2 separate regions of the Homo sapiens genome follow, and region 1 is linked to region 2. Evidence: promoter capture Hi-C in 16 types of primary human blood cells and fetal thymus (Javierre and others, 2016). All regions are on one chromosome and are shown on one strand. Each heading gives the region's core, a stretch centred on a gene start or on the middle of the fragment in contact. The rest is flanking DNA. Distances are from core to core; before and after follow the strand shown. Region 1 holds the start of TMEM266 (transmembrane protein 266). Region 2 holds the start of CSPG4 (chondroitin sulfate proteoglycan 4).

What was found. Contacts are between HindIII fragments. The CHiCAGO score rates a contact against its expected background, and 5 or more counts as called.
Region 1: the fragment with the promoter of TMEM266 here is called in contact with the fragment with the promoter of CSPG4 in region 2 in 2 of 17 cell types (M0 macrophages and M1 macrophages); the score reaches 5.9 in M0 macrophages.

The regions. Positions count from the first base shown.
Region 1 is chr15:76,058,666-76,062,313 of GRCh38, forward strand. TMEM266 (transmembrane protein 266) reads left to right here and starts at 1,320. Exons shown (of 11, transcript NM_152335.5): 1 at 1,320-1,351. It also overlaps a transcript of NRG4 not described here. RefSeq lists a silencer at 313-362. The HindIII fragment of the contact is 3,394 bases long and covers 1-2,861 here.
Region 2 is chr15:75,710,450-75,714,191 of GRCh38, forward strand. CSPG4 (chondroitin sulfate proteoglycan 4) reads right to left here and starts at 2,399. Exons shown (of 10, transcript NM_001897.5): 1 at 2,219-2,399. The coding sequence starts at 2,306. The HindIII fragment of the contact is 21,900 bases long and covers 1-3,742 here.

The DNA.
Region 1 (3,648 bases), core at 70-2,569, 350 kb after region 2:
ACCTATCTGCAGAGCCAAAAGCCATTCTGAAACTCCGTGTCCTAGAAACAAGGGTTTCCCATCTTTTCAAATATTTTAAGATAAAAATCGCAACACCCTATAGGAAAATGGCTATATTTTTAGCAAGAATTGGTGGAGAAGACAAACGATAATAAGCTACTATGAATCCAGAAGCTGCTTAAATGGCCGTATTCACAGCAGCCCTTGCAAACATTAATTAGAGTAGTACCCATTATGGGTGAGGACTTTTTTTTTAACCACAGAGAATATCTGTGGGTGCATCCAGATTGCTCAGTGGTTCCGTTTAACCCACCCGGTAACTGGCAATCATGGCCCTAGGACAGGCTTCTCCACCGGGGCGATGCTGCCTCCAAGGGGCGCAATGTTACTTTTTATGCATCAAGCACGGATAACACATACAGCACATAAGCAGGTCGACAGTGTATCTGCGGTACTGGGATTTCACGGGGAAAGGAGATGGGGACGTGTAAAAAGCCTTTTTAAGAGTCAGATAACGAAAAACGGAAAAAGAGGAGAAACACGGTCCTACAAGGGTCCTGAGCTGAGGCCATCAAATGAATGTACTGACAGGTATTTTTCTCCCAGGCAGCCAACTGAGAGTCAAGGCACTCTGACCGTGCTATGACTCCGGCCACACAGAAAGAGGTGTTTTCCCCTCGGTGGCCTCCAAGCGCAGCGGGCACTGCGTGCCATCCGCTCCCTCACCGGGCGCCCCGCGCGGATGAAACGGAGCAACTGGGAAAGAGCTCTGGAAACTGCAAAGCGCTGCGCCAAAGCGACGGGAGGTTCCCATTCTCAGCTGTACGAAATCCCGCGGGGGTCCTCCGCTTCCCCGAGCGACGCCCTCGGCCTCCGCACTTGTTGCTTCTGCGCCCCGCCTGCGTCCCCGTCAAACCCACCCTTCGCGGCCCCCTCGCCTCTCCACACGCTCGCACTCAGGCCCCGACCCTGCCCCGCGACCCCCTCACCCACGCCACGAAGCCCGCTCTGCGTGGCAGCCCCGGAGACAGCCGAGCCCCCGCCTCCGCCCCCTGCCCAGCTCAGGCCGCCAGCCCCTGCCAGCCGACGCCGCGGTTTCCTAGACAGCCGCGCCGCCGTTCCGCAGCCTCGGGGGCGCGCGCGCGCGGCCGGCGGGAGGCGAGGGCGCAGGCGCGGGCTCGGCCAAGCCGCCGGCGCGAGGCCTCGCGCGCGCCCCCGAGCGCGGTGGGCGGAGGGGCGGAGGGAGCGGCGGGGCCGCGAGGGGGCGGGGGGGCGGAGAGGGGAGCCCCGGGAGCGCGAGCCGCGGCCGGCGCCGCTGCAGAGCCGAGCGAATCCCGAGCCCGGGCAGCAGGTATGTGTCCTCGCAGCCGGCCGCGGCCAGAGCTTCCCCTGCCTCACTGCCCGAGTCTTGTGGTCGGGGCGGGGGGTGGGGGGACCGGTCAAGGTTTGCAGGATGCGTGCTCGGAAGGGCTGGGATCTTGCCGCTGACCTTCATCCCCCTGGCCGGGGGAGCCAGGCGAGGGTGCGTGGGGCAGCCCAGGGCTTCAGCTCCAGCCTGGAGACCTGCTTCTTGTCACATGCTTCTTATTTATTTTTGCAAACTGCCCTGGTTCGGGTCCAGCTGCAGATGCCTTACCTCCCATTCTTTGCCTCCGTGTGCCATCTTGCATTTATTAATAAAACATGCAAGCTGGAGGGGGGGGTTGCTGCTGGGGGGAATCCCATTGCAGTATGGCAAGCGGGCGCCTATTTTCGGTTTTCAGACGTGGTATAGAGGTGGAAATCCCACACCCTGAGGATTTGTGGCTTGGTTGGTCGTGACCACTTCCTAGTGGGCTTCCCCCGTTTGTCGGGAGGTGCCCCAGCGGCAGAATGGGCTGTCTGGAAGGGATGGTGGGTCTTCACCGTCAGGCCAGAATCCCCTTCAGGGGACAGGTGCAAGCTAGGGCAGGCAGTTCCCTGCTTGCTAACTTGCCAGGGAGGCTTAAACCTAGAAAATTGTCTCCCTTGATGGCCGAGAAAAGATGGCCTTCAACAGAATCCCTGGGACTTGCATACTCAAACTCATTACGGTTTTGCATCTGAACATGACTAAAGCTAGCCACCTGTTGGAAGTCAGACCCCATGAAACACCCCCGTAATCTAGCTCACCCATCCCTGTTTCACAGTCACCAATACTGAGCTAGCAATAGGCCCATATGGGTTCCCTCTATCCTCTTTAATGCTGCTTGGCTTTTCTTTTAAAATAAGACCTACCTATGATTTGATGCCCTATATGTGAGAGGTTGAAATTATATGATTTGTTTATATTCCATACACCTATCACATCATATCCTAAAGACTGAATTTCTCTTCAGTGCATGTGTTTATTTCCCTGGCTTTTCACCTTGCTTTGAACAACAGTGGGAAAATGGGATGTATATAACTGCTTACCTCCTCCCCCAAATACCTCCACCCTAAAATATTGTGATGAAAAGAATAGTAAGAGCTAGAAGCAAAAAATGAAAATGGTTATCACAAGATGTTGGGATATGATAGCTGAACCGTAATTGCTTCTAAAATGGTCAGAGTGTCACATCTAATCACGAGAAGGACATGTTTCTTAAATGTTCATATGTACCAGGTACTGAGCTAAAACTATTTGTGTATGAGCTCATTTAGTCCTCACAGCAAACCTGCTATGTCCATGTTGAAGATGAACAAGCCAGGACTTAGAAAGGTTAACTAACTTGCCCAAGGTCACACAGTCAGGGACAGGGTAAGGATGCAAACTCAAGCACATGGGGATACTGGAGGTGGGGAGCCCTGAGGGGGCTTTTCCTCCAGGTGCGGCTGCTCCGTGTACCTTTTCATTAAAATCAAGCTTATGCATGAGCATGTTGGCTTGGGTCTAATTTTCCATTTCATAGATTCTGCACCAACTTTGTGGCTTTCCAGTAAGAAAAGCAGTTGTTTCAGAATGGATCAGTATGGAATTTTTTGAGGTGGCACTAAACCTATAAAAAGTGGGGTCCAAGATGTGCTTCCATTTAATTCTCACACACAAGGAGTTGAGTTTAAAAAGTTGTTTCCCTCCAGATTTAAACCCATAAAACGTATATGCATTAAGTAGAATGAATCACTCCCATTTTCCATTATCGCATCCCACCCTACCCTCCTTGCTGCCCTTCACACTATCTTCTGGTCTCACTGCCAGTCATCAGAGCAACATTGTCTATCACACTTGCCTGTGAGTGCCTTAATGGGAGGAAGGAATCCATCCGTACCAGCCGTGGCTCGTAATCCAGTCTCTCTATGATTGTAGCAATTATGCATTCAAAGTTCTTGGAATCTCTGCATTCAGCTATGGATGTGTATTTAATCATTTTTTTAAAGTGCATTATTATAATGCAGGTATTGGATTTTGTTAAACATTCCTAGCAGTTCTCATGGACTTAGAAATTGCTGTAGTTGCATCAGTGAAAATTCACCCAGTGGGGCTAATAGCTTTTCTACTCAGGTCACATAGTTGAGATAGTGGTGAGAAAGGTATAGGTGAATAGAAGGAATTATTTGGAAAGTATATCCCATGCAAATAACAGCTTTTAATTATAAATTGATGAATAATATTAAGTAGGAAATATAAGACTATCTCTTTTAATTTTATAA
Region 2 (3,742 bases), core at 1,149-3,648:
CAGGCTGGGAGCACCCTCGAAGCAGGGCTGGGGGCTCTTCCTGGGCTGCTGGGGTTCTTGGTGGAACTCAGAGTACTTTTCTTCCTCTCTGGGGCCTCAGTTTCCCTCTCTATACAAGTGGAAGATTGGCCCAGATGGCCTCTAGGGTGCTGACTGCCAGGCCCCCTGACCTGGATGCCTCAAATGTTGATGAGTAGAGGGAGAGCCTCCCAGCACGCCTCATTCGGATACGGGAGGACGAGGGCCTTTGCAGCCAGGGGCATCCAGGAGGGGTGGGAGGGACGCCTTCCTCAGGCAGGGGCTGCCCCTACTGCAGAAATCAGGGCAGGCAGCTGGACCAGGAGTGGTGACAGAGATGGGTTGCTGGACGGGAGCTCTCACAGCCCCTCCTCATTTCCGAGTCCTCCTAAAGGCAGGGGATGGTGTAACTTTATAAAACCCCACAGCACCATGCTGCTCTCTTGCCCTAAAACCCTTGTGGCATCTCCTTTGCCAACAGGGCATAAGGCCGTGGGCTTCATTTTGCCATTTAAGGCTTCTGTGCCCCAGCCCAGTGGTTCTCCCTGGCCTGTGCTCGAAATACGCCTCCCAGCCAGGCTGCTGGCCTTCCTGTCTCAACACCCCTCTGCTTACGCCCACCTTGGTGCCTCTGAGTCAGCGCCCCTGCCTGGAGGACTGACTCCCTTCCCATCCACCAAGGCTTGGTTTGAGGCCCACCCTGTGTCCTGCCCCAGCTTGCCCCTGCTTTTCTCCCCTCTGTACTTTTCATCCAGATTTTTGCTGTTTGAGATTTAATTTGCCTTTCTGCCTCCTGAATGAGTCTCAGTTCAGCCTCTCAATTTCCCGTGCCCCTGCGAGCCTAGCACCATGCCTGCATGCTGTCAGGGCTAAGAAGGTATTTGAGAATGGCTCTCAGTTGAAGCCCAAGGAGGTGGGGGTACTGGAATCCCTCCTTGGCTGGAGGCTGGGGCCTGAATGAGCTGACCACCCTGGTCACCTTGGATGCTCCCTTCCCATCTCCCTGGCGGCCCAGCCCATCCCTCAGGCCCTGAGATCTTAGGGGATCTGGTCCCTGCAGGAACAGGGAGCCTGGAGATCCAGCCCTGATTCACCCCGCGGGGGTCCTCCCTTGACTCACTTCCCTTCTGGGAACCATGTGATGCCCTCTTTTAGAGCTGGCTTCTCCATCTGAAGGAGAGAAGGGTGTGGCCTGGGCCCTTGTGAAGGAGGCTCAGGCCCTGCCTTTGCTCCATGTTGCTCTTGGGAATGATCTCGAAGGTGTAGCTGAAGCACTGAATCACACGTGGGTAGTGATGATGGATGGGCCCTAAGGCCACAGTTCTTATGGCATAACTAGAGCTGCCTTCGCTGAAGGAAGAATGCTGTCATGTTGGGGTTTCTGGCATCGGGACAGAGAGGGGATATATCCCAGCACTTCTCGGAAAGCGAACTTCCATTCAGCCTCTGCTGGGTCAGGCATCAGTGCTGGGATGAGGAGGTGTGGCAGGGGGTGGTCCAGAGCTATCTGTAGGACAAGCCCCGCTGAGGGGCACCAGCTCTCCCTCTAGGAGGCTGAGAGTGGGTAGTGGGTGGGGGGTCCTGCCTGTCACCAACAGGAGGAGGGAGAGGAGAGAATGAAGAGGGGAGGTGGCAGATAGACGGATCTGCAAGGAAGCAAGGGGAGGAAAGAAGGGGCAGAGCTGGGGGGCAGCTGGAGGGGTGTGGGGGTGCTCCTCACAGGGGAGGGCAGGGTGGCTCATTCCTCGTTTCCCACCTTGTAGCACTCCCCATTCCTGGCCCAGGGCATCTGAAGCTGGAGGACCCACTTCTCACTGTCGCCGGGTCCCTTTGGACCCCAACATACTCACCCCAAACTTGCCTGGCAAACAAAGCTCGGCCAGCATTGGGGTGGCCCCACTGGTGTCTCAGACAATCCAAACGGGCAAAGCCACGCCCTAGGCAATCCATGCCTGGGGCGCCTGCTCCCGCCCCTAACTGGACAGCCTTGGCTAGCTAGAAACCCCATAACCTGAGATAGCGGGGTCCCGTGTCCGCCCCAGGATTGAACCCCTGGCGACCCCAGCTAGTGGTGGGAGAAGCGCAGCCTGCTTGACTCCCGATCTGGGGGCCACTTCTGGCTCCTCCTGTCCCTTTTCCCTCCCGGAGGAACCCCTCTAGTTCCGCCAGGCTGGGTCGGGGTCTCAGGCCCCTCACTCACCCGCGGATGCAAGTCTGGCCAACATAGTCAGGGTCAAAGCCAAGGCCAGGCCGGGGGCTGGAAGTGGGGGCCGCGGCCCGGACTGCATCCCGGCGGGCTGGGCGGCAGGACTTGCGAGGAGCCAGCGGAGTCCTGGGAGCTGGGAGCTGAGTGGAGCGAGCGCGGCTCTGCTCCTGGGCGCGGGCCGGCTCCGGGTGTCCGCGCACTTAACTCCGGGGGCGGGGCAGGCGCAGACCCGCGCGCCCGCTCGGGTTTCAGGCTTGGACTCCCCCACCTGCCCCCACCCTCAACCTTCTTAAAGGGCCCGTGCGGGGCTGTTCCTCTCTGGGGCAGGGGTGAGGGGGCCCTTGCAGCTGGGCCAGACCCCAGCCCCACCCTAAAGACTTAGAACAAAGTCATAGAGAGGCCCAGACACCCTGAACTCTGGCCCCAAGAGCCGAGCCCGGGAGACCCCCTCAGGGAGGAGGCATGAACTGTCCCAGCCCCTACTTCCCTCCTTTCTGCCTTTGCGGGAGTTCAGGAGACCCCTCCACAGGCACACTCCAGCCTTAGGAGGAAGGACAGACACCAGCCACCCTCACAGGCGGCTTTTGGGCTGCTTTGCCTCGGAGGTCCCCTAGGAACTTCTCCAGACTCCAGAGGCACCACCCGAGGTCCTGTGGGGCACTGCCCATGGCTGCAACAGTGACCTTCTCTGCCTGGAAGGGCCTCACCTCAGTCTCCCTGTCTGTAAGGGAGAGATGTCTGGATTTCCTCGCAGGGCAGAAGAATTCTCAGTCCCGCCATGACATTTGCCTCAAAATAACCTTGCAAGGTGGGTGAGGAGCATCCCCTCCCCCATTTCATGGAGGACGAAAGTGCAGCTCAAGCTGAAAGTGGCTCTTACAAGACTCCAGGTGGAAAGTAGGTCCCTGGCCGTTTGGTGCCAGAAGCCCAGGCCTCCTGACCCCTGAATCCGGGTGTTTCAACTTCCCGAGGCTGCCTCCTGGAAATCTGGCCCTGGATTTGGCTTCTACCTAACAGCTTCAGGCTGGGGCCCTTCTGCTGGCTCCCTTCCAGGCAGCAACATCAGCCTAGTCCCAAACAGGAGGAGAAAGGGCAATGTTACTTAGCTTCCGGTGCCTAGAGGATCTGCGTGTTCTCTGTCCAGTCCCAATGTTACCGGGCCTTGGTTTACTTCCTCCATTCAGGTCCCTCCATCTATCTGCTCCAGCCCATCTCCAGCCCAACCCCACCTTGCACCCTCTTCCCAGCTCTTCCCTTTGACCAGTAACAGCCCAGCACTTCATACTTTGCAACGAAACTGAGACCTGTTTTGCAGATGAAGAAACTGAGGCTGAGAGAGATTAAGGGACTGGAGCTAGTCTACATAGCTGCTGAGATGTGGGGCCAGGTCTTTGACCCTAAGTGCAGTGCTCAGGTGTGATGGTGCCTGGTCCATGTGGGGGTTATGAGTATTGGTCTTGAAACCAGAGAGACCTGGGTTCAAATCCCAGCTCCCTTACTTGGTTGTCAAACCTTGAA